5 separate regions of the Homo sapiens genome follow, and regions 1, 2, 3 and 4 are each linked to region 5. Evidence: promoter capture Hi-C in 16 types of primary human blood cells and fetal thymus (Javierre and others, 2016). All regions are on one chromosome and are shown on one strand. Each heading gives the region's core, a stretch centred on a gene start or on the middle of the fragment in contact. The rest is flanking DNA. Distances are from core to core; before and after follow the strand shown.

Evidence for each region. Contacts are between HindIII fragments. The CHiCAGO score rates a contact against its expected background, and 5 or more counts as called.
Region 1: a fragment that was not itself captured here is called in contact with the fragment with the promoter of SDC2 in region 5 in 1 of 17 cell types (neutrophils); the score reaches 7.4 in neutrophils.
Region 2: a contact is called between a fragment that was not itself captured here and the fragment with the promoter of SDC2 in region 5, in 1 of 17 cell types (neutrophils). The highest score is 5.3, in neutrophils.
Region 3: a contact is called between a fragment that was not itself captured here and the fragment with the promoter of SDC2 in region 5, in 1 of 17 cell types (neutrophils). The highest score is 5.0, in neutrophils.
Region 4: a fragment that was not itself captured here is called in contact with the fragment with the promoter of SDC2 in region 5 in 1 of 17 cell types (neutrophils); the score reaches 5.6 in neutrophils.

The regions. Positions count from the first base shown.
Region 1 is chr8:97,133,241-97,138,386 of GRCh38, reverse strand. The region is part of intron 7 of CPQ (carboxypeptidase Q); the gene reads right to left. All of the region lies in intron 2 of LOC101927066 (a long non-coding RNA gene), which reads left to right. Among named protein-coding and RNA genes, the nearest start is that of TSPYL5, 140 kb to the left of the region's middle. The HindIII fragment of the contact is 6,767 bases long and covers 1-5,146 here.
Region 2 is chr8:97,189,605-97,194,718 of GRCh38, reverse strand. All of the region lies in intron 2 of LOC101927066 (a long non-coding RNA gene), which reads left to right. Among named protein-coding and RNA genes, the nearest start is that of TSPYL5, 86 kb to the left of the region's middle. The HindIII fragment of the contact is 3,598 bases long and covers 624-4,221 here.
Region 3 is chr8:97,025,975-97,031,339 of GRCh38, reverse strand. CPQ (carboxypeptidase Q) reads right to left here. Exons shown (of 8, transcript NM_016134.4): 6 at 1,846-1,937. All of the region lies in intron 2 of LOC101927066 (a long non-coding RNA gene), which reads left to right. Among named protein-coding and RNA genes, the nearest start is that of TSPYL5, 250 kb to the left of the region's middle. The HindIII fragment of the contact is 2,305 bases long and covers 1,319-3,623 here.
Region 4 is chr8:97,152,949-97,158,259 of GRCh38, reverse strand. The region is part of intron 2 of LOC101927066 (a long non-coding RNA gene); the gene reads left to right. The region is part of intron 1 of LOC105375655 (a long non-coding RNA gene); the gene reads right to left. Among named protein-coding and RNA genes, the nearest start is that of TSPYL5, 120 kb to the left of the region's middle. The HindIII fragment of the contact is 3,245 bases long and covers 2,062-5,306 here.
Region 5 is chr8:96,491,285-96,496,518 of GRCh38, reverse strand. It overlaps SDC2 (syndecan 2), which reads right to left and starts at 2,706. Exons shown (of 5, transcript NM_002998.4): 1 at 2,188-2,706. The coding sequence starts at 2,247. The HindIII fragment of the contact is 13,490 bases long and covers 1,054-5,234 here.

The DNA.
Region 1 (5,146 bases), core at 1,114-3,613, 640 kb before region 5:
CGTTCTTACAACTTTGTACCAGAGTTTTCCCCTATCTACTCCCATAAACCCCTTGCTCTGGGGTGGAGTACTTAGGATGTCAACAGACAGATATAGGCACAGGTATTCCAGATGAACAGAACATGTGAGCGTTCCAGTTTGGTTGACACTGGGGGGTAACTTGGGCTAATTATTGGCAGATAAAGTTGGCAACTACCTGTGGAAGGTCCTAAATGTCAGGCTGAAAATAGACTGAATGTAGTTCATAAATGTGGAGCCATGGTGGTTGGGAGGATGAATGAGAAGGTGGGGTGACTAGAGATGCACCTTAGGGAGATGCTCCAAAAAACATGAAGGAGAAATTGTGTGAACAACTACGAAGGTGAGTAAACAGCTGGAGAAGAGGTCCAGTCTGAGGAGAAGTGAGAGGGACCAGGGCCAGATGATGACATCTTGACCTCCAGAAGGCACAGATAACCACATTTCCCAGTAGAAAAGCCAGAAGTCCTTTTTTTTTTTTGAGACGGAGTCTTGCTCTTCGCCCAGGCTGGAGTGCAGTGGCGTGAACTTGGCTCACTGCAAGCTCCGCCTCCCGGGACTACAGGCGCCTGCCACCACGCCCAGCTAATTTTTTGTATTTTTAGTAGAGAAGGAGTTTCACCGTGTTAACCACGATGGTCTCGATTTCCTGACCTCATGATCCGCCCGCCTCGGCCTCCCAAAGTGCTGGGATTACAGGCCAGAAGTCCATTTTAAAACCAGAAAATACTTTATGCCATGAACTCACAGCACACCCAGGGGAGACAAATCTGTATGTTTACTCTGGTAGTAGCTAGAAAGCACTTTAACAGAAACTGTGACATTTTAGAGTTAGTTGAAGCTGGTGGGGAGTACATGCTCTCTGGACCCCACAGAGTATCAGGTGAATGTCAAATTCATGTACAAGGACAGAGTCAAAACCTTCAAAGAACAGAAGTCACTGAGGGTGAATGGAGGATGAATTAGAATTGTGGATGTCAGGAAACAGGAAGGGACATTTAATTCCAGCAGACAGAGCTTGGAACACTTGGGGCTGTTTCCTTCCCAGTCAGAGCTTCTTAAAGACACGGCATGGTGGTCGACAGACAAAGCCTCCAAATTCCATATTTAAAAAAGAGAGGCAAGAAATATTTGTCCATGCCCTCTTCAGAGCTCCAAAATTCTCAGACTGAAGGAATTTGGCTGCCTTCCTTTAGAACTAGTGACTTGAAGAAGGCATTTCCTCAGATATCATCTAAGTTCCCATGAACATTCTACAAAACTAAAACAACTCCAAAACGTGTTCTATCAATCACTAGTGAGAATGCTGATAACTGCAGGAGATACCAGGGTGGGCCCGCTGGCTGGCTTGCAACTTTGTCTCTGTAGTTCCAAGGAGACATTTTATCAGTGACAGCTACTGATCTAAAAGATGGGCACTGAGGGAGATCCTGCACTTCCATTTCTGAGAGCACCTGACATTGCAGGGTGGGTGGGTCAGGGGGAATGTTAACTATCCCCAGGGATAAATTGCATAGGATCTTCTGACAGGTATATGAGCTCTGAAGAGGGAGTCATAAAATGCATTTATGAAATGGAAAGCTGGCAGAAGGAGCCTGCTCTGAAGGCAAATATTCTCCCCTGGAAACAAACTACAGCATTATTAGGGCAGTTTCACTGTTAGGAAATTATTTCCAAGGGAGGTTTGGAGTTTAAGAATGTGAAGACATATCCTTCAGCATGTCAGCCAAGGAGCCATTGCACCTAGGAGGGAGATACAGCTGAGAGAATATGGGGTTTAGAGGCAGGTAGGGCTGGGTTCAAATTCAAATTCTTCTGCTTAAAACCTGGGTGACTTTGAAAGAATGATGTAAAGCCATTCAACTTTAGTTTCCTCAATCAGCAAACAGGGCTAATGATATCCAACTTCCAAGATGCTTGTGAGGATTAATAGGTACTCAATTAATTCTTTATTATAGTTGTTATACAGCCACAAAGATGAGCCAATCTATATCAACAGTATCATGATCAATTCATTACAGCTTGGAAGATTTAAATTCCAATTTAATAAATCAAAGTTGTGACGATCGCTTTTTAAAGACGGAACACCTGGTCTGTGATTCTAGTCTATATGACTGCCTTGACCCTGGTTTGGATTATTTTCCCTCTTCCTCCTTCCCTTGCTCCTTCTCTATGAATCTTTTTTTTTTGTAAACACTCATCTCACAGAAAACATTTTCCAGCTACGTGACTGGGTGAAGACCATCTGATGAATATTATAAAAAATACCTGAGCTGCCCCATACTGTTCACAGCAGATTTCAGCCTTCACAGGGTGCTCTCACTAATGACTGTGGCTTGTGCAGAATGTTGGAACAAGACTGAATACCTGCTAATTCCTGAAGAGATGGGTGGGCACATACACAAAGATTCTCAAAGTCACCATTATTATAGGTTGACTCTCATTCATATGTAATCAGTGAGTTTTCATGTACACAAATTAAGCAATTTGTGTTATGAGAAGTTTTTGAAAGACGTTTGAAAGCACTGAAAGTTTAAATTCAAGTCTGTTATTTTAGTGCATATACTGGCTACTGTGGTTCTGTGTGAAGGATGCATTCACAGGCGAGCAGCTGTGGGAAATCCATTTCTCCTTTTATAAACACATCTTGAACAGTCTGGGGTATGCAATTTAATTGCCATGGAATATATTATAGATATTCCCTGATCATAATAATTATGGGGTGAGGGAAGAATGTTATGGTCTTAACATATTCCTTGCAAGAAAACTTAGTCCCTCTAGAATCCTTAAAATACTAAAAATACATTTAAAATTTAATTAAAATTATTATTATTTTCAGCAACATTAGCAAATGAAAAACACATACACATTATTACCAAAACAATTAGAAAATCAATTCATGGGATTTGCAGACACTTAATCTCTCTTTTCAAGGGGGCAGTTTAATCCCTACTGTATTAAATCTTATTGAAAATTAGACTCAAAAGCAGTTCATTAGCAGCTTCCTAACACATAGCTCCCTAGAAGAGAAAGCAACTCAACTCATAAGAGGGGGAAAAAATGAAAGGAAAACAAAGGACAGGACAGGACCAGAAAGTAAAAACAAAAAAAATCCTCAATCACAAATCCATTAAAAGTATTCTACTTTTAGTTTCTAACTCTCAAGCTACCCAAGAATCTCCAAACTTGGGCTAAAAAGTTTTAGGTGCGCCACTAAGCCCATGTACCTTCTATCTCTTTGGAAACCTTGGCTTGGCTATGGGCATAATTTTGACCAAATAGTTTAGGTCAACACCAACACCTCTGGTGGACTTGCAGGTCCCACAGTATCTGAACTGTGTGATAATGAGTCATCTCTGTAAGGTGGTAAAACTGTGTGGCAGCAATAACTAAGACTAGTTAATCAGTACTACATGAAGATGATGCTACAGACTCCCCAAATAGGGGAATTACAAGAATAATAGTCACTGCTTGTTGAGTGCTTTCTGTGTACTGAGGGCTTTCTGGAGATGATTTCATTGAATTGGCCCTATGAGGGAGAGATCTTCATGTGTCTTTAACAGATGGAAAATAGATTTTAGTAACTTGTCTGATGTCATACAGTAGTAAGTGGTAGAAATAGAATTCAAACCCAGGTGTCTCTGATCTGAAATCCATGCTCTGTACCTTCTTCACTGCCCTATCTCGGGAAAAAATGTGCCTTTTCTCCAGTGGGAAACCATTTGCATGACTTGCTTCATTTGCAGCTCTGATCTCCCACCCCTATTCTACTTTATGACAAAGAGATGGAAACTTGGGTCGGAGGTATCCTGGACCATGAAATAGAGTAAAGACTTGAATTACATTCATACAGTGGGCAGAAGATGAATGGCAGCCCTACCTGACACCAAGCCCATCGCTGTGGCCGGGCCACACTCTGCAGGCCTGCCAGTCCTCCTGGGACTCCCTGATCGTTCAGTCTAAAGTCCACCCCTCCATGTGGTCACTCATTATCTCCCTTACCTTCATGCTGCTGCTTCTTTTTCTTTTTCATAGCACTATCTACCAGTTGAAACAATATTATCATGGTTTTATTATTGTTGTCTGTCTTTTCTGCTAGAATGTAAGCTCCTTAAGAGCAGGGGCTTTTTCACCCCAATCCTCAATGCCTGGCACTTAGTGGATGCTTAACAGATATTTGTTGAATCACTGAATGGGTAAATGAAAAAATTCTTAACATGTAGTGGGACAAAAGCAGAAATAAAGATTGACTCCATCCTCCTTTTCTACAGCAACTTATGGTAAGTAAATCCCACTTTCTGGGAGTTCTACTCTCAGCTTCTGCCTTGGAGAATGACAAGTCAGTTCTCCTTACCAAAACCATGTGAACATATAGCAGTATACAAGTTGAGATCCAAACACTATTATGTAGAACTCAGTATGTTCTTATACCTTTCACCACTCTTATAAAAATTATTCATGACTTAAAAATAAAGCAAAAAGGTAGGCAGTACATTCTTTCAATGTCATTCAGGGGCCAAGTCCACCCAAAGATTATTTATTAGAATGTACTTATTTTGACTCACTGCTTACTGTTGATTAAAGGTCCCAGATTTAGTGAAGTTACATGTCAACTTAAAGATGTCTAAAAGAGATGAAAATGAATTTTGTCCCATAGAACAGATATCTCAAATGTTACAGTTTATTGGCTTCTAAGACATTAACCAGTTTTTATCTAACCCAGCAATTTTATCCTAATATATATTTATTAAGTTGCACAGACTTGGTTTCTCAAATGCTCTTTAAAATGGTGTAACATCTTACTGATATTCTCATTAATTAATGAATTGAATAAATTTTTTGACATGCATGAGATTCATGATTTTACCATTTAGAAAATTGTATTACTTTACCACCACCCACCTAACAAACTCTAAAAGAACAATCACGTTCATATGCTTCTTGCAAATGTTAAGTGACTCACAAAGTCCCCATTCATGATTTTATACACAATTACTCTAATGATTAAGAGCACTGAACAAACTGATCACCAATATAAGGGCTGGCCTTCAGGTAGAAAGTGTGCCTTCCCTCTGTATGTAGTTCATGGTCTCTAGGTATGAGGAGTATTGGGGGAAAATAAATATAA
Region 2 (5,114 bases), core at 1,173-3,672, 700 kb before region 5:
ATATACTTCATCTTTTTATGTTTGATGAGTTTTATAACATTAATATAAATGAGCATACATATGCCACTCATATTTTACACTTGAAACTTAAAAAAATATTGCTTGGAGCATTTCTGCCAAAAGACAGCTTTTAGGATTTTAAGACAGAATCCTTATCAGGATCTCCTGGGGACGCAAAATTTAGCTTTTAGTTGCTACCTGAAGACAATCATTCTTTATAAAACTCAATGTCTCCTTTCAGATCTTTTGAGGGATGTTGGGAAGATCCCTCTGCCCTCTCCCTGGGGCCCATCATATGTTCTGCAACAGGCTAAGTTCCTGAGTTCTCAGGGGGACTGCACAGGAGTCTGCACCAAATGGACATCCAGGACACCCCTGCATCCTAGACTGTGTGTTTCTTATGCAATCCAAATGGACTATATTCCTACATGGAGATTGAGTCTTAGTGATGCTTTTCACAATAGTGGTGGCACCTCCAGGGGAAAAGTCACATCATAGTCCAGTTTGGAGGGTTGCCGAGCCACTCACTTTCACGTTTAAGTTTCCAAATCCCGAGTGTGTGAGAAATTAATCACTGGACATCTCGGGAGATAGAGTGAACACTGGTGGTTATGAATGAAGCTTCATTTAAGCAAGTTATTACACCTTTCAGGTATAATCAACTAACTGCATCTGGGATCCCACAGTGATGGATTTGTACCCAACTCCATAGCCTTAATAAAGTGAAAAACAGACAAGAGCTCAGACTTTATTTTAAAATGTACATGCTTTTGCTTTCCATTTCTTAGAAAAAAAATGCATAGATGAGATAGTAGAGTATAATGAGTAGAACCAGGGGCTCTTGAAGTCAGAAAAATTGAGTTTAAAACCTCAAATCCACACTTTGTAGGTGGGTGGCCTTGGACATTGTCTTACTTTGTTTGGTGTTGCTATAACAGAATACTTGAGACTGGGTAGTTTATACAGAAAAGATTTATTTGGCTTATAATTTTGGTGGCTGGAAGGTTCAAGATTGGGCAGCTGCATCTGCTGAGGGCATCAGGCTGCTTCAACTCATGGTGGAAAGTAGAAGGGCAGTGGGTCTGTGCAGAGATCACATGGAGAGATAGGAAGCAAGAGCGCTGACTGAAGAAGCCAGATTCTTCTTAGCAACCTGCTCTCTCCAGAACTAATCCATTCCTGAGAGCGAGAACTCAGCCCAGAAGAAGGGCCCTAATCTATTCATGAGAAATCTGCCCCCATGATCCAAACATCTCCACTAGCCCCCACCTCCCAATACTGCCACACTGAGAATCAAACTTCAACATGAGTTTTGGAGGGGACAAACGAAAGCAGACATATTGTTTAATTTCTCTCAGTCTCAGATTATTCAGCCGTCAAATGGAGATAATCACACTGACCTCACAGAACTCTTAAGAAGAGTCAAGGACACAATGGATCTAAGTGTTCAGCACAGCACCTCGTAGCTAGAACTCAGTCAACAGTAGGAAGATAAGGAAATGAAAACCAACCTGGCTTTTGAAAGGTTTGAAATATTGAAGAGAGATTTTCCTGGTCTCATTGAGATCTCCAGATTTCTTCTTTTGCTTGGTGCCTGTACAGGTTGCTGTCTCTAAGTCAGTGGCTGGAGCAAGTGCAGCATGGCTGGAACTCCGTCGCTGTCAGTGAGGCATCCGCTCAAGGACGGCAGCCTACTGCACGCCAGCACCTTGCTCTAGGATTGCCCCAGCTCTTTCTGTGGAAACCTGGAGCCTGATGATAAATCCCTCTTACTTGAGGTAACTTGGAGGCAGTTTTTTAGAGTTAACATAGTTTAAATAAACCATCGATCTCGAATCTAGATCAGAAGATGGAAAACTTTTTATATAAAGGGCCAGGTAGAAAATATTTTAGGCTTTGTGGCCCATATGGTCTCTGCTGCAACTATTCGATTCTCGTAGCATGAAGGCAGTCAAAGATAATACATAAATGAATAGGTGTGGCTGAGTTCCAATAAAATTTTATTTATGGGCACAGAAATGTGAATTTCACATCATTTTCTTGTGTTGTAAAATATTCTTCTTCTTTTAATTTTTCTAAAAGGACATTTTAAAATGTAAAAAATACAAAAATAGGCAGTGTACTAGATTTAGCCCACGGGCCATATAGTTTGCTGACCCTGATCTAGAAAGATGTTTTGTTAAAAATGAAATTTATTTTTCACAGCTCTAATGATTTACTGAGAATTGTGACAAAGTAGTGATATGTTGCCATTTTATTTCAGAGAAATTCTGACCTAAGCCTGAAGGAAATTGCTTTCTAACAAAATAAAATACATTTATTGAATCTTAGGAGATAAGGTTCACACTTTTATATGTGGCTTAATCCCCACCTGGGGCATACAGGACAGTAAGACCTTTAGATTTTACCTTTTTGTTAACTAAGCGTGGTCTCAGGCTTTGCCATATTTTGTTTAATTGGAAAGTTTAACATTAGAAGACATGGGGCAAAATAATAACAAAGCAACAACAAATGACAAACACATTTCGCCCTAATCGATTATACTGAGTCCACACTATTGACTACCTCAACTTTGAAGTAGTTGAAAAGAAATACAGGAAAAATAGGAAATGCTGAATGCCCACCATATATCTAGAATTGTTACCACCATTCTACAAATGAAGAACTAGTACTCATTTAAGTGTTTTTTTTTTTTTTTTCAAAGCTCACACAGCTAATAGATGCATAAGCTGGAATTCAAACATAGCACATATGACTTTTTTTCAACTTTTATTTTAGATTCACGAGGTACACGTGCTGGTTTGTTACATGGGTGTATTGCATGATGCCGAGGTTTGAAGTACGAATGATCTATCATCCTGGTACTGAGCATAGTACCCTGCAGTTAGTTTTTCTGCCTTTCCCTCCTTCCGCCTCTTCCCTTTAGTAGTCCCCACTGTCTATTGTTGCCAACTTTATGTCCACGAGTACCCAGTGTTTAGCTCCCGCTTGTAAGTCAGAATATGCAATATTTGGTTTTCTGTTCCTGTGTTAATTCGCTTAGGATAATGGCCTCCAGCTGCATCCATGTTGCTGCAAAGGACATGATTTCTTTCTTTTTTATGGCTGTGAAAAATAAAATGTTGTATCTATCACCCTACGTTAGCTTTCCGCCGGTTAAATGTGTGTGTTTATTTAGTGCCGACCATGCCTGCCCTGTGCTAAGTTCTCCGTATACATTATCAGAACTTCAAGAAGAAATCAACCAATCCACCATCATAGTGAAATATTTCAACACACTCCTCTCCATAATTGACCCATGAATTAGATACACTGTGTCACTTTTAATGTGCAGGTAGATTTTATCTTTCCTATTTTACACTTGAGGAAACTGAGGCTCAGAGTGGTGGTTAACTTGTTTAGGGGCCACATGCCGAGCAAATGATAGAACTGAGATATAACCCGGATGTCAGGATTTCAAAGCCCAGGAGATTTGCATTGACCTTCATGGCTTCCCCGCACCCACCAACCTCAAAGTCATTTAGAAACTTATGGGATAGGCAAAAAGGAAGACCTGGAGAGGTAGGGACAGAGTTGAACACTGACCTTTCAATCTTCCAAATCCCAATCAAGGGTTTCTCCAGAGAGTTGGGTTCTGTTAGGGATAACATTGAGGAAGTTTGATCCAATTACCAGCAACAGGAATAGTTATTTGTATTAGGTTTTGTTTTTTAAATCACACTGAACAAGCATTACTATCAGCCAGGAATTAATGGCCACACACAGCGAGAGACACCCAGGAGTGAAGCAATAATTACTGAGGTCATCGACCTCACTTCGGGGCAAAGCTGACTTAGGGGTCCTGTCACTGCTGGAAATGACAGGATGCAAGTCAATGGATGCCGAGCCACCCTGGGTATAGTTCAAGCCTGTCTGCATTAAAATGATGTCAACTAGATTGAGGGCATTTGGAGACCAGAAAGATAAATAATAATAGCTTTGAAAGGGGCTGACTCAGGAAGGTCAGTTTCTGATTTGACAGAGTTGCAATGGGGGCAAGTGATGACTGAAGATTCCTTAGGAGAGCCATTTGCCTGCACTTGGCTTGGGAGTAGAAGAAGGAGGTCACGTGATGGGTTTGAATTGTTCCAGAGGTCGTGAACCAATCTCTTTTAAACAGAGAGAGAGAGAGATGGGTTAAAAAATGAGAAAGAAGCAAAATAGCAAGAAAAACTTGAAGCTTACCATAGACCAACATTGGGATAGCTTCTAGAAGGAAGCCTGTGTGTGTTTATTGTGGGAGAAGCTAAAGTAGGGTGTAAAAATGAGATAATAAGCAAACAGGAGCGAACAATCTTGGCTGACAACGAACAGCAAGGAAATGCTGGGCCCTATCTGCTTTCTCCCATTATTACCAAAGTGAGCAGATTTCAAGGTATGAAGCCATAATAGTAGATAGGAAAGTTTGCTCCAAGGCTCATGCCCATGGGCATGTGGGGAACACAGGGAGTGCCAGAGATGACAGGAGGATGTTCCAGCTCACATTTCTCCCAGAAGCAGACCCTGAGGCAAGAATCCAAGTGCAAATATGGCAGCCCCCTTATCTATGGGTGATACGTTCCCTGGTGAATGCCTGAAACCTGCAGAGAGTACAGAATCCTATACATATATATATATATATATATATATATATATATATATATATATATATATATATAAAATGTTTTTTTCTATAGATACCTATACATGATAAAGGTTAATTTATAAATTAGGCACAGTAAGAGATTAACAATAATAACTAATAATAAAATAGAACAAGTATAAAAATATACTATAATAAAAGTTATGTGAATGTAGTCTTTCTCTCAAAATATCTTATTGTACAGTATTCGCCCTTCTTATGATGATGTGAGATGATAAAATGCCTACGTGATGAGATGAAGTGAGGTGAATGATGTAGGCATTGTGATGTAAATGTAAAATTCCGGAAATAGACAATGCATAAGTTTTGAATAGGGCTCAGTTCTGAGTACTATGACAAAATATCGCACCATCCCACCCAGGACATGAGTCTTCCCTGTGTCCAGCATCTCCACATTGTGGCACTGCTCACCTTGAGTCACCTAGTAGCCCTC
Region 3 (5,365 bases), core at 1,222-3,721, 540 kb before region 5:
TGGCACACGCCTGGAGTCCCAGCTACTTGGGAGGCTGAGGCAGGAGAATCACTTGAACCCAGGAGGCGGAGGTTGCAGTGAGCCAAGATGGTGCCACTCCACTCCAGCCTGGGCAACAAAGTGAGACTCCATCTCAAAAAAAAAAAAAAAAGAATAGTTCTTTTAACTATTCTTTTTTTTATATAAAGTCCAATATGTATAGAATTTTAGAGCTTCTTCTTAAAAATAAGTTACTCTCTTGCCTCGAGGATAAAGTCCGCACGTCTAAATATGATTCATATGTTCTTCTTGTTCAGGCTCTTGTTTACGTCTCTGTTCCACCCTCCTACCACTGTGCATCTTGCATTCTATGCAGCAGCCACTCTGAATTCCTTTCCATTTCTCTGGTGTGCTTTCCTCTGTCTCATCTCCTGCCTTTGCACACACAGGTCCCTCTGCCAAGGTGCAGTACCCACCTCCTCCCTCCCTCTCCATTTTCCTTAGCTTACTTCCACTCAGTCTTCAGGTCTCAGCTTAGATGTAATTTCTTTCCCAGAAAGACTTAACACCTTATAATTCAAGTTAATCGTCAGTGTCCTTTAGAATGTAGGCTTTGTAAGGTCAGGGTAGATCTTTTTGATGCTAACATTAATGCATAACATAGTGTATGGAACATAGTACATGTTCAGAAAATATTAATTGAATGTTGCTGAATCTAGAACAACCCTTATATGATGTTGTGGTCTACCACAACACATAGAAAATGATGTTACTGACCTACCAACCAAAGGACACTTGTCTTGAATTATGTTATCCCCAGGATCACCTGAGGCCAAAAGAACTAAAGTGGTGAAAGAGTAGGGCATAGGTCATAAGTTGTCCTTTGTACAGTAAATAATTGTATTCAGTGACCAAATTCATGACTTTGAACTCATTATACTCTAACTGACTGAAATAGGGTAATAGAGACTGACTTTGAAAAAAAAAAAAGGTCAAAAATAACATACACACAATTCACAAAAGAAACCCTTCTCCGATTTGGATAATTTAAGCTTGCAAGATCTGCTTCTTCTCATCTGGACATTCAGGGGAAACCATCCAGCAGCAGCAGCAGACCAAATGCTCCTCTCTGGGCAACCATCACTGCTTGCCAGCATATGCGCGTTGATTTTGGAGTTCCTCTTTGAACTAACATTTGACTTGATCTAGAGTATTTCTCAGCTTGTATATTTTGCTGTCTCAAAATTTGCTCTTGATATTAATCTCCCTATCCCCTCTCTTCCATGTGGTCTTGTATTTCTAATCATGACCATCCACAATAACCTTCCTGCTTCAAGCTTCACACTTGTGTAATGACAGCTGGTGTCAAACCAAGCTGTCCTCCACATTCCTGGGACAGAGGCCTGTGGCTGCTGCCATTTCCACCACCATCATGGCAATGCTCTTGGCAGACTCAATGACTTGGAACCTGGCTCTCAAATGCCAAGGCTTCTGGGAATATGGCGGGCATTGAGGTATGGGGATAGGCTCGGTGGGGAGAGGGAATGTTTGCCTATAACTATTTCTCTGACATACATGAATACAGCAGAACTAGGTAGACTTGAAAAAAATGGCAGCATGGCAATTGGAATTTTTCTTTGGCCTCAGACTGTGGTGTAGAAGAAGAAAAGCCCTCAGCTCTACACCACAGCATCATTGGTTTACCAGTGCATTCTCATTCACAGGGCTGGAGGGAGAAGGCTCATACAAGGGTGTTTCCTAGGGCCAGTTGACCAGAAAGTATTATTGAAGTCTTAAATGGACAATGAGAGGGATTTTTGTATATTACATGTACAAATGCTTAGCAATCCACAGCTGGGTTTTTACCTTGTGTAACTGATAATACTGGAAGGCACCAACTCCACCTTGTTCTTCTGCAGTCCAGAGCACCAGCCGCAGAGTCCTCTTTGGACGCAGCCCTGGGAAAATAATAAAATAAAAAAGTGATACTTTAGTTGATTTTGAATTTTATAAAAAAATGGCAGGGTCCCTCATCTGCCTTGTGGAGGAAGGAGGAAATCAGAGGCATTCAACTCTCACTGGTGTGGTTGTCTCCTTCAGGGTATGGCCAGCACAGCAAAGGAGCAACTTCAGGGCTGATCTCCAGGCCAGGTTAATGGAGAAAGGGGTTGTGACAAATGCAGTTTGCAGGCCAGAAAGTGAGAGCCTCTCATCACATCCTTAACTTGATATCCTGCCCAGCAGAACCCAATGGATGGCCAAGATCAGTGAGATATTAGATCATATCTGGAAGATGCAGTTAGGATGACCCCAAGCATATTGTGGGGTCTTTCAATGATCTTAATTGTAATTAAATCATTTGGGTCTACTTCAGGATAAGCCATGTAGATTACTTTTTAGTCTGAATATACAAGCATAGCTAGATGCCCATGCTATCTTCAGTAATGTAATAACTGAAAAGCAGATGCAACAGTTATGCTTCTCCATGGCCAATTTCTTCTCCTACTTGGAAATAGAAGGTCATTTCCTTAAGGTCAATGAAAATTAATTGAATGAGGATGACATTTATTGACCTTATTACTACACAAACAGCTTGGTGGCAATTTTATTGACTTGTGATACACAAATTTGTATCCTGGACTTATTAAATTTTATGGCAGATGAAGTGGCTCCAGAACCATTTTTGGCTGACAATGTCAGCTCAGTGAAAGTTACCTACAAGGAAGCTGTTTCTGAAGTTAAAAAAATGGTGAGAGTATGCCAAAAGTGCTACTTTGTGACCAAGAATTAATATCTGTTCTGACTCAGACTGATAATGGCATTTCTGAGAAATAACAAAGACAGAAAAATGTGAAGCTGTGCTTAAATCTTATTAAGAGGATTCGTTTTCCCACCTCCTCATGGGGAGCCATAGGGAAGGGTTAAAATGGACTTTGAGTGGCTCTGAGATGGACACACCACATATCTCAGGTATAACCACATATGTGCTGCCACCCAGGTGTGTGGCTTTTGAAGGAGCCAGCTGGCTAACTGCAGCCTGGATGACAAATGCTTCTGGGACACAGAGCTCTCTCCTGCCTCTTCCAGGCTCCAAGAGGCACTCTCCTTTCCTAAGCCTAAGGAGCTGAAAAGGAGGAGCTACAGTTTTTCATGAAATTGAATATAGTTGTGAAGTCACTTTGTACTTCAGCATGTTAACATAACTTAAAAAGCATAGGTTTAGGATGCAGGCTGACCATAGTTGCAGTTAAAACATGGACAAGCAATTTCTACATTCAGTTCCTCAGCAATCCCATTGGTGTTTCCATCTAAGTCCATATAAAATCCAAATTCTCATCTTGGCCACTACTGTGGTCCAAGCCCCGCAGTTGTCTGGATTGCTGCAGTGGCCTCCTAACTGGGCTTGCTGCTGAAGCCCTCACCTCTCTTCAGGTGATGCTTCACACTGTAGCCAGGAGGGTCTTTGTAAAAGCTAAGCCAGATCATGTCATTTCTTGGCTCAAAACCTCCAATAACCAGAAGTAAACTTCTGGAAGACAGGGATCTATGCTTTTTATTCATTGTAATGTCGCCAATTCCTAGATTGTTTGACACACATTAGGTGCCCAATAAATGGTAATGAAGGAATAAATAAATGCAAAGCTTAGTGTCTTGATTAGAATGAAATTTGAAGCCACTTCTCCAGTCTCATCTTCTAAAAGTCTTCTGCTAGCTCATTCCCAGGCAAGGTGTTATATTTGAAAAAGGCAGACAGATCTGGTAAATCCTGCTATCATTAGGCACTAGCTGTGTAACTACTGGGATATGTATTTACCTGAACTTATGCCTCTTTATCTGAAAGATGAAGATAATATTATGTGCCTATGCCATAATCCTTTTTCAGATTAAATGAGATATGATAACACATGTAAGACAACCCTGGGGCTGGCATGTAATTGGCATTCAATAAGTGAAAAATAAAACCACATAACACACTTTCACCTCACAGAGTAGAAGGAACATCTAAATGCTCAGAGAGGAAATTCTTCCAAAGGCCTTTGAGTACTTGGAGAAAAAGAATTCTAGAGTGCCCACTACTTGCTCCACCGAGTCAAACCACCTGCCCACATTCATAGCACAAACTTAATAAACTGTTGTCTGAGGAAGAAATCTAATCAGGATTGCCAAAGATAACAATCTTCGGTTTCTTTCAAAGGAATGTGCTTAAAGTCAATTTAAATGAAATTACTTGCTTGTAATATAGGCAAAAATAAGAAAGGATAAAGTACTATTATTGTTTATAGGCTGCAAATAAAAATTCTAAACATTTTTTAAATCCACAAGAAAAGAAAAAAATACACTTTTTTTTACATATCTCCGCACCTACCAGTAAAATATTACCAAATTATTAAAATGACGAAATTCTCTAAATAAGAATAAACAGGCAGCACAGGCTACAGAATATTCATTTTTTAAAAGCAAATGCTCTGAATATCCGTATAGATTTTGTGTGCCAAGTGAAAGTTATTATCCTACAGGGTTAGTCTCCTTTACATTCCAAATCAGCCACATGGCCAGTGATGTATTAAGGTAATAAAGAAGTAATTGATTTGAAGTGAGGAATGCTAAGGCCTCAACACAACAACAGCATAGTTGGTGCACAGCTGGCCCTAAAAAGACTAACAAGCCTGCTCAAGCCCTTGAGAAGCTTAGTACTCATTAGCAGGGAACCCTAGCACCTACTTCACAGAGTGAAGGCCTTAGGAAGAAGTTAGGAAGCCAGTGGGTTAGCAAATGTTGAATCCAAAGTCTCTTTCTACTCTGACAATCTGATTGTCCCTGAACCTAAGAGAAATGCGTGAGGTTTCATTCAAGAATTAGACCTTAAACCTAGTGGGGAGTTCAGGTCCCCAGGCTACCTAAATCCATGATGGACGGTGTAGGGTACAGAAAGGCATTGGCTGTGGAGTCTGAGCTGTGTTTTACTCCTGGCTCTGCCACTTCTGGCTCTGTGAGATTAGATTAATTATAATACCTAATCTCTTCATCTATATAATAAGGAAAATGGTAATTGCCTGCTGGGATTGTTATGAAAGTTAAATAAAACAAAGCAAATGTATATCAAGCATAGTCCTGGCACATAGTAGGTTTTCAAGAATTGTTTATTAGCTTCTCTCTCCACCACTCTAGACCTTTCTGGTCAGTGCCAACAGTCACCAGGGAGAGCATGTGGGAGAACTAGGTGAGACACATGGTCCTCAGACCGCTTCCTTAGGAGCCCCAGAACACCTTTGTTTATACAGCATGCATAAACCTAGCCAAGGGAAAACACAGATTTTATCTAACCTGTAGGAAAATACATAACTTCTTTCAGTACAAAAAGCTCCCTCATCCCAATATAGAGCAT
Region 4 (5,311 bases), core at 2,435-4,934, 660 kb before region 5:
ATCCCTGGTGATAGAAGCATCCATATATCCTTCAGTAAATTTACTGTTGGTGTGTTTTTGTGATACATGGGATCCTCTAAAGCACAGGGCTCAGGGCAGGGGTCCCCTCTTTCGTGGGCTGAAGCATGGCACTGTTCAAACCCCACTTTCTATTCCTTAAAATGAAAATGCACCGGTTAGATTGGATATATTCACTCTGGGAACATTAGAAGGCTCACTATTCAGAGAAGTATGTTTGAGGAAGATAAACAGTTTTGAATCATCTAGATTTTAGTCAAATTTGGTCAGTTCTGTGATCTTGGAAAAGTTACTTACAAGCTCTATACCCAGGAATCTTCAACTCTAAAATGGGGATTAAAATAGGACCTACCTCATTGCATTGGGTGAGCATTAACTGAGAAAATGCGCATTAAGTTTTTAGCGGCATGATTGGCCCAGGATAGGTATTACTGATAATGATGATGATGATTTGGATGGCAAGGCAGAATCTCAGAGACAAGCTTAGCTTGGGGAAAATTCATGTTCCATTGCAATCTCTGGGATGGACTGGCTGGTACTTAGAATTAAGATAACTAACTGGACCAGGGCGTGACTTTATTGTCAAAATCTAAGTCACAGCTCAATGTTCTTTAAATCTGGAAAATAAAGCAAGGCTTTCTGAGGTACCATCCAACTCATAGGTAGTTGTGTGGCTGCTTGAGCAGGCCCAGAATAATCACCAATGATATTAAGACCGTCAGGTTCTGTGAAGAACCTGGACACTCTTAGGATATGCTGTAAACATAAGAATATTTATGAGACAAGTTTCAAGGCTACAGGGAGGCTCTCATGCCCAGGGGAAAATGTCTTTGCCTGCAGTTGAATAGTTCAGTCATGGATTGATAGCAAGACTTGATTTGATAAGGGCTGAGTACATCTGTCTAATTTATGCATGGAACTTCATTAGCCATTGCCTTCCACAATTCCTTTGGTTAACTGTGGGTCATCTAAGGGAGACGAAAAAACCCCACACAACTTCAAAGGTAATTTCTTTCTTCTCCAAAAACAGTCTTGGGTTTTCTGGTTTAACAGAGAATTGAGAAGTAAGCATGCATCATTAATTTCTACGCAGAAAACATTCTTCACTTCAAATAGCAATTAGTGATAACATTTCTATCTCTTGTTGTGATGAGCTTTTTATGCTAATCATCACATAGCTGTAAATTAATCATTTGGGCACAGTTAGAGAGGATGTATATTTCATGAGACAGATATAGATATCAAGATCCGTTTGATATTTACTCAACGTAAATGAGAAGCATCTTAAATTATTATGAAAGGAGCATACTGAGCAAATAGGACTGTGTGTGGCAATGTAATGTATGCAGTGTAGATGCATGAGAATTTTTAAGACGCTCTTGGTGTCATTACTGTAATTATTGTGAGGAGGGTGGAACACTCTGGGGAACATAAACTCCAAATTATCCACAGACACAGCAGAACCCTCAAAACCACATCTTAACAATGTCAAGGGCAAAATCAGCAATCGACCTCCTTTCCCTCTAGCTTCCTCCTTTTTTTTCAGTGACAGATTTCACCCTTTTCACATGATACAATATTTAAATGGGTTTCTCTTCTCAATTTGCTCTTAAGTCTACTCAGCTAAATGAATCAGAAAAGCAACTTGACCCTAAAGTCAAATTGGAAGGTGGCTGCATGCATAGAAAATAGGCCACCACACAAATGATATACCATTTCTCAGCAGATAAACAGTTCTTTTTAAATTTATGGAAAACAAGAGAATCGTACTTAAAAATGCCTATAGCGATAGTTACTCAATAGCTTGTGCCAGGCTGCAAGATTGCCTGGTACACCCTAGCAATTATGATGTGCAGGTAGAGTTTTCATGAGAGGAAAATAATTCTACAGACCACTCTTGTATTAGGCTTTTTGCTTTGCTACAAAGGAATACCTAAGACTGGGTAATTCATAAAGAAAAGAGGTTTAATTGGCTCATGGTTCTGCAGACTGTACAAGAAGCATGGCGCTAGAATCTGCTTCTGATGAGGACCTCAGGAAGCTTATAATCATGGTGGAAGGGGAAAGGGGAGCAGATGTCTCACATGGCAAGTGTAGGAGCAAGAGAGAGATGGGATAAGTGCCACACACCTTTAAACAACCAGATATTGTGGAAACTCACTATTGTGAGGATAGCACCAAGCCATTCATGAGGGATCTGCTCTCATGACCCGAATACCTCATGCCAGGCCCCACTTCCAGCATTGGGGATTACATCTCAACATGAGGTCTGGAGGGGACAAACATCCAAACTATATCATCTTTCTTCCACCCTCTCTTGTTCTAACTCCCACATACTTCTTCATACCTCCCCTACTCTTATTGCTATCGATAACCACACTCATCAGCACACTCCCCTACCTGCACACAGTCACATTGTCGCCCCTACCCAGACCCTCCGTACTCCTCTAATAAGGCAGCAGTAAAGGGGCCCAGCTAGAAAATGGGCCGTTTATGTTATCATTTGGCCCCATATAATTTTTTGTTGTTGTTGTTGCTAAGCAAACAGACAATTTTACGGAGAGAATGAATAAGATCCATTTCTTCAGAGCCACTTGTAGGATAAGGCAATGGGGGTACAATCCCTAACCCTATGCCAAAGGTGGAGGTGGAGAAAGGGTCTAGTTCCCTGGAGGAACTAGAATGGTACAGTGACTCAGGAGGCAGTGGGGGAGGAAATGACGATCTTGCCAGCAGCTGGTGGAACTTTGAGACTATAATACAACTTTGTGAGTTTCTCTCTTCTAAAGTTGCTCTGAAACCTAAAATTCTGGAGTGACTGGGGTAGGTGGTGGTAGCAGTGAGTGGAGAATACAGAATTTAACTTACTCTGGGCTCCACCATCTATGGGGATAATCTAAGATGTTGCTCAGAGCTGATAAGCAGAAAGCACAGCAGCCCCAAGTCAAAGGGAGGTGGAGCTCATTGGTGTGGCAGTGTTCCTATAAGAAGTTACTCTTTGCTATTACTGAAGGAAAGGGAAGAAATTTAGTCCAATAGGACATAAATGTCCATCTTAGAAAGCAAAAAGGAGGCAATCAGTCAGCCTGTGAATTTTTAATGCTAATTATAAAACTGGATATAACTTTTCTAGAAAATAACTCTGAAATCCAATAATGATGACTAGATAAACTACAGATTATCCTTGAACTGTGGTAATTCATAGATACCAAGAACATCCAAGTACTACCAAATAGAAGTAGTTACTGTGAACACCCTTAGCTTATTTCTTACCTTAAAAGAAATGTTTTCAGCATTTCATGTTAATTATTGTATTTCTTTAGTTTTTTTTGTAGATGCTTTTTATCTGGTTAAGGATGTCGTCTTTAATTTTTACCATAAATGGATTTTAGGTTTTATGTGACTCTTTTTCTTCATCTACAGATGATTGGATAATTTTGCCCTTTTAAATTTGTTAATGTGATGGATTAAATTAACTGATATTCTAATGATAAACCAATCTTGCATATTTGAGCAGACTTTGGACAGTTCAGAAAATTTATGTGAATCTACATACACAGATTGGAATCAAGTTGTGAAAAAAATGAATCAAAATGCATTAAATGTAAAAGGAATATAAGTATATTCGTCAGACAAAAATTAGTGGTCTGACACCCACTTCCAACCAAGTAGGAGTAACAGGGACCAGACTTACCTTTATGCATGAAACAATTAAAAAATCCGAATACAATGTATTAAATAACAGTGTTCAAGACACCAGACACCAGGAAATGAGGAGCAATGATGCCCAACAGGCAGAAAACGAATGAGGTGAGCACTATGATGGCCCTAGCTTACTTCCTTAATAGAGTTTCCAGTTACACTGTGGGGAAGGGAAACCCAGGCAGAGCCCAGGAACCACCATGAGTTGAAAAGAGGAATGTGAATGTCCAGAGAGGCTGAGGCAGCTAGAATTCACAGGACACAGTGTCACGGAGGATAGTTCCACACACAGAGAGAAGGCCAGGGAGCTGCAGAGGGTCCCACCTTCCCACAACTTCAGGTGAGTACTGATCAGTTCATGCATTTGCGGAAATGATCAGAAACTGGGGAACGAACAATCTGGAAGGAATATAGAAAATAATACTAGGAACTCCTGTTCCTTCAGTCATAGAGAAAAAACATCATAATCTATAGAGCATCAAGAGTACTTAGAAGGGTTGAGCTTTAGTAGTGGGGCAAAATTAGCCCTAGACTAAATGTTGCTCTAGTTTCACCTCATTGAGCTTGGTTAAAGAATCAGGACATGCTACATATCTAAATCCCGCATGAACCTGAGAGTGACTGACTGTCTTTTGGATTGAGCTGAAAGACACCATCTTGTATGCTACATGACCAATATTAATCACTCAAAATATTTCCTTGTGTCATCAAGGGCCACTGTGATAGAAATTATTACTCATGTGGGTTACTGAGTGGTGTCTCCAATACAAATCTCCATTTCTGACCACTTGTTTCCTTTCGTGAAGATAGGATATGAATGATACCACCTAAAGCACAATTGTGATAATGACCTCCCTCTTTGGTAGTTTCCATATTTCCTTCCTAAGAGTTTCTTCTCTCTTAAGACAATTCCAGGACTTTCCTGGAAAGGCACTCAGGCTAGCTCTCTCTTGACAGGGCTTCTTGATGGAAATTTTCATTTTGTCTCCACCATTACTTCAAAAAAGGGAAGGAAGGAGGAATGGAACTGAGAAATGAATTTGCTGTAAAATAGAAGCAGCTAACATTCCTCAATCAGGGGACACATATTGTGGACCTACTATGTACTGGGCACTGTTCTTGGTGCCCTTAAATTAGGGAAACAACCACTTGTTTTCCAACTGTTCTTAACAAAAGACTGCAGAGGAGGTATGAGGTAGCAGTCCAATTTAAACGTTTACTTATAGATAACTGTTGTAACATTTATTGAAAAGTCCACCTTTTTTTTACAGATCATCTATACCAACCTGTCATAAATCAAGTTTTTGCATATGTGGTTCTGGATCTGAACTCTAGTCTGTCCCATTGGACTACTCACTTATCGTTTTGCTAATGCTATGCCATCTTAAAGACAATAAGTTAAGTCTTGACATCTGGCAAGACAAGATAAAAAATCAGAATAGGCTACATTATGTTGTGGCAACAAAACCTCCACAAAATTATTAGTGGCTTAACACAACAGAAATTTATTTCTTAGTCATGCTTCACATCCATTGTGAATAAACTGGAAGCTCTGTCATTCCTTCTTATCACTCTGGATCCAAGCTTGTGG
Region 5 (5,234 bases), core at 1,457-3,956:
ACTGTTAGCCATTCTGGGCCTTGAAACAGCTTCTATTTAGAAAGACTGACTCACTGCCTAACAAAGATTCTCTGCTAGTCTCTAAGTTGACATTTTATAAATATCTAATCACCCTTTTTGGATGATTTTCCAATTACTGAAAACAGTGTCTATCACAATGAAGCAGTTCACTCGGAAAGCATCCAGTTCTGGTTCAAATTGAGAAATATTAGAACCCCAAAGATACACAGTTCAGGGGAAAGCTGTCACCGGGGAGGACAGGTATATAGTTCGGCCAAAAAACTTCCTTAAGGAGCACTGGTAGATTTATGCAAAAACCCAGAGGAGCAGAAGACAGAAACATTCTTTCTCCAGAATCCCAAAACAGTAACATTTCCTAGCAAATCCATGAATAAGACTCAGCAAAAAAAAAGGGCCTCCTTAACCATGTGCAGTTTTTTAGGCAGGCTCTTGAAATTTATTAGATGAAGTCCCTTTGCCCTGTTTTGCAACAAGAGGAGCAACAACGCTCATCTGAAATAAACAAGAGAACTGCTGCCTTTTGGTGTACAAAGAGCCAAAGTTCATCCTAACTGGCTGGGAGATAACTAATACCAACGGATTAAACCATCATTTGCCAAAGGGAAACACTGATAAGGCTGGGAGTTCTATTTTACAACCTGAGCACCCAAAATACTCATGTAGTCTGTACAGTTTCCAATTCTACATGCTCTCCAACCACAAAGAACGTATGGGGATCTGCTAGCACACACAGAGGCTCCCACACTGATTAAAAATGTCCATCTGCCGCTCGATGCCAAAGAGGTTTCCCAGTCCTAAATTAGCCTCAGCACAAAAAAGGGGGGGAGGGAGACTCAAACTCATAAAACTACCTAAAAGACCTTAAGATGATATAATTTGTCTTTGAAAAGACCATTCAATTAATTAGAAATTGACACGTTATTAAATGGCAAAGGGAGAGGACGTGGGGAACCAGAAGGGCCAGAAACAGCCGCACTCCCTGAGACCCCAGAGGGCACTGAGGCTGCAGACGAAATCTGGGGTGCTCAAGCTTCCACCTGGCCCGACAGAGCTCCTGGCGCCCAGGTGGAGGCAGCTGCGGACGAGAGGAGGCCAAGGAGGCAGTTCCCTTTAGAGGGCGCTCATTGGGCGACGTGGGGAAACAAGCTCCAGCCCCCGAAGCGCGACCAAAAGGAGAAATCAAGTTCCCACCGCCAGGGCGGGGGAGGGAAGCTGGGTGCCGGCAGGCGCTCCGCCGGAGACGAGACTCCTCCCGGCCCCAGAAGCGCCCCGCCAGGGCCAGAGAGGGCGAGCGTGGCGGGAGGGAAGCCTCTGTCCCCCAGCGGCCAGGCGACCCGAAGCCGAGCGCCGTGTCACACGTACCCCGCCTCGCCCTGCTTGCGGCACTCCCGTGTAACTCCTATGAAAATGTCCTCCCGTCCCTGACGCCCCGCGGTGCAACCTCCACCCCTCAACGAGGAGGGGGTCGCCGCAGGACTGGGAATCCAGTGGCCGGCGTCCCAGCATTTTCGGACGCGTTCCGTGCCTCCCCCAGTATCCCCTTGAGGGATCGCCTACTGCGATTCCACGTAGTGTCGGTTACCTCGCCCTAGCCGCAGGGAGCATCAAACAAAAGAACTTTTGCAAACTTTTCTCTCTGGACACTCGCGGGTCTCTTAAATCTGGCCCCCATCTCCCCAGAACTTGCATGCAGTCAAACAGGAAAGCTGGCGCGGGGGGGATGGTGTGCGGAGGAAGGGACCCCGAAGTTTCCAGGTCATCCCTGGTCTCGAGGAGCGCGCGGAGTGGAGCCGTTCCCTCGCGGGCCCGACCCAGGCTCCCCCCTCCTGCCACCCTTTCCCCTCCGTCCTTCCCAGACCACGCAGCAAGACCCGCCGAGGGCGAAGAAGTTGGGAGTGACTTCAGGGGCCTCTGCGGCTAGACCAAACCGCAATTCTCGGTGCCCCCATTCCCGCGGACCGCGGGGTAACGCCAGCGAGCAGCGCTTTTCTGAGGAAGGGAAGAGGGGGAAAGGGTGACCGGACGAGCGCATTTGTCCCAGCGGATCTCCGGTGTATACTTGGGGACTGGGGGTTCCCCAGGTGGCGCTCCCCTATTCCCTGCGGGCTCCTCTCGTAGCTTCAAACACCCTAAACGGCGCGCGCATCCTCCGCCTGGCCCACTCACCGACTCCGCCGACACGCAGGCCACCAAGCCCAAGGTGAGCAGGATCCACGCGCGCCGCATATTCCCCAGGGACCGGCTGCTCCCAGCCGCTGCTTGCAACCAGGGCAAAACGAAGCCTCCTGCCCAGCGCTCGGCGCAGCCCGCGCACACGAATCCGGAGCAGAGTACCGCAGCGATTGCGGCTCAGGCTCGGGGACTCGGGCTCGGGGCTCGGGGGCGCTCGCTTCCTCCTCCTGCGCCTGCTCCCGCCGCCCGCAGCTGCGCCCCGGGAACGCGGCGCCCTCTCACTTGTTGGTTTCTGCACTCCCGACACGGAGTTGGTGCTCCGGGAAGGCTGCTCTCTGAAGCTCTTCTTGCTCTGCTGTGGTTTTGCTCCTCCGCGGACTCCTTTCCCGTGCCGAGGTTCAGTTTCTGGTTTTAAGGAATAAATTCGCTGGCTTGAAAGGGAGCTACGGCAGAAGTTTAGGGGCAGAGCGGCGGGAGCGCGCGATCCGCGCGGCTGGAGCTCCGGGGGTATCTGGAGAGCAGCGCGTCCAAGCGGGGCCACTGGCTCCGCGGCTGCGCCCCTCCTCCTCCCGCGCCGCGCCTCCCTCCCCGGGTCCTCCTCCTTCTCCTCCTCTTCTTTTCCTCTGGCTCCCTCCCTCCTGAGCCTGCTTCTCCGGGCTCCCCTGGGCGACTGGGGAGAGGAGGCGGCAGTGTGACTCCCAGATAAACCCGGGAGAAATTCCTACAGGATTACACGCCGATTGGCAGCTCCGAGGACCAGTGGGCGCCGCGGCTCCGCGCTGTGGCTGCGCCGGCTCTGCTCACCGGCAAGCCAGGGCTCCTGCGTTTTCTCAGTCCTTTTCTTCCTTTCTCTCCCCACTTTTCCTCTCTCCTCTATGCTCTTTTCTTCCCCGTTGTCTTTTCTCTTTCCCTTCTTCACTTTCCCTTTTCTAGAGAACAATTAGTGAAGAAACGAGAGACGTATGTAGCTTTTCTGCCTTGAGAATTCGACCAGTAGAAAGAAACTGCTTTGTGAGTTGAGGGAAAAAAAAAGTGTAAGATGCTTTCAAGCAATGTGAAGTGTTCATAAATCGCCAGTTCATGAAAATTGCATTTTAAAAGAGAAGATAATTAATGTAATAAATATATAGTGAGAGTGTTTCCCATTCTCCCAAATCCTTCCGCACCCCCAAAAAAGGGACATGGAGGAAGGATCCTGTAAACCCAAAGTGCAACAGTTTGAAAGCTCCTAACTTCATTAAGGGCTTAAATACCATTTCTCCCTCACACACAGTTTATGCCACTAAGGCTTTTTATAGGCTCCATTTTAGCAGATAGGTGTTAACGTTTGGAAGCTACAAATAGGGTAATTTGATGAGAAGTTGGATAGAGACCCTGAATAATAACAGATTTAAGATAACTTCAAAGAAAAGAGGGATAAAGTAATTCTTAGTTTGAAGAAAATAATGAACATGTATTTCCTAAATGGAAGTAGCTGACATGAAATATTTTGTTACAATGTCTGTGGCATATTATAGAACATGGCAAATGCGTATTCCCTTCCAGTTTCTTTTTCTTACTGTCACAAATTTTACACACAAATCCCTTGCAGTTCGTGCCATCATTTTTCTCTCTGACTTATAGAGTAAATGAATTATGACGCCATTCTGCTCCTGGAATGCCCACTACAGGAAACCAGAGACTTTTCTGTCTGTTCACCATTGTATTCTCATTCCTGGTACATAAAGACACATGATAAATATTATCTTGAATAAATTTTGCTCTAAAGCTCAATTTATACCGTATAAGAGTTGTGAGCCTTTAAAATACACCAATGTAGATATATAGATATGAGGCCATGGTAATTTTTCAACTCAGTATTAGAATAAAATACAGTCATACCCTCAGTGAGAATTAAATGTCTTAGTAACCTATTACTGTAATAAATCTCAAAGAAAGAAATTTAACTGGAGAATTACAACTCAAACTTGGAGACACTTATTCCTTTGGTTTTGTGTGCCAGCTACCAAACCTACAAATGCTCATGAGCAAGTCTAAGGCATTGGCCAACAAAAAGGTAATATGGAGAAATAGAAGAGTAGGCAAAGGAGAAAGAAGAAAAAGAGCAATAGGCCAGAAGTTGTAACATCAGATGATGCTTCTGATTCCACAGACACTGTAGCTGGCATCTGTGCCAATGTGGGCTCCACTTAGCTTTTGAAAGAATGAACCACAGCCTTTTTTTTTTTTTTTTTTTTTTTTGAGACAGGGTCTCATTCTTGCCCAGGCTGGAGTGCAGTGGCCTGCACTGTAGCCTCTACCTCTCAGGCTCAAGCAGTCCTCCCACCTCAGCTTACCAAGTAGCTGGGACTACAGGCACAGGCCACCACACCAGCTAATTTTTGTGTTTTTTATAGAGACAGGGTTTTCCATTGTTGCCCAGGCTGGTCTCAAACTCTTGGGCTCAAGTGATCTGCCTGCCTCAGCCTCCCAAAGTCCTGGGATTAGACACGTGAGCCACCAGCCTAGTGCCCTTATTTTTAAGATGGAGTCTGTGGGTTGAAGAGGTTCATGAGATGGGGAGACTTCTTAAAAAGGCCTCCAAAGGAAAAGCAGCAATGCAAAATACATGCAAAGAGCCATAAAATACCAGCTCTGTCCTCATAAGAGGCCTCGTCTACTCGCCAGCCTTCAGGCAAGGCCACACCTCCATTGTCCCCAACAGTTAAGTATTCATCAAATAAATTGGAATTCCAGTAAAACAGGAAGTGCACTCCACTGATTTGCTGGTTCTCACAGTTATTGCTGTTTACTGGGGCACCCATGTAACAAGAAGCGTGGTGAATGCTCTCTGATTCAGCTTGGGCAGACAGTGATAAAAAATGAATAAGTGGATACACGTGTTGAAGGGATATTATCTGTTTGCTGCCCTGAAGGCACACCCCAAGGCTCTTGGTGTTGATGAGATGCTCAGTGACTTGTTTCTTTAAAGATGATAAATACTCCATTGAGAGTATATATAATAAGGGAATTGGTACCATTTTGAGTGACACAATATTAAG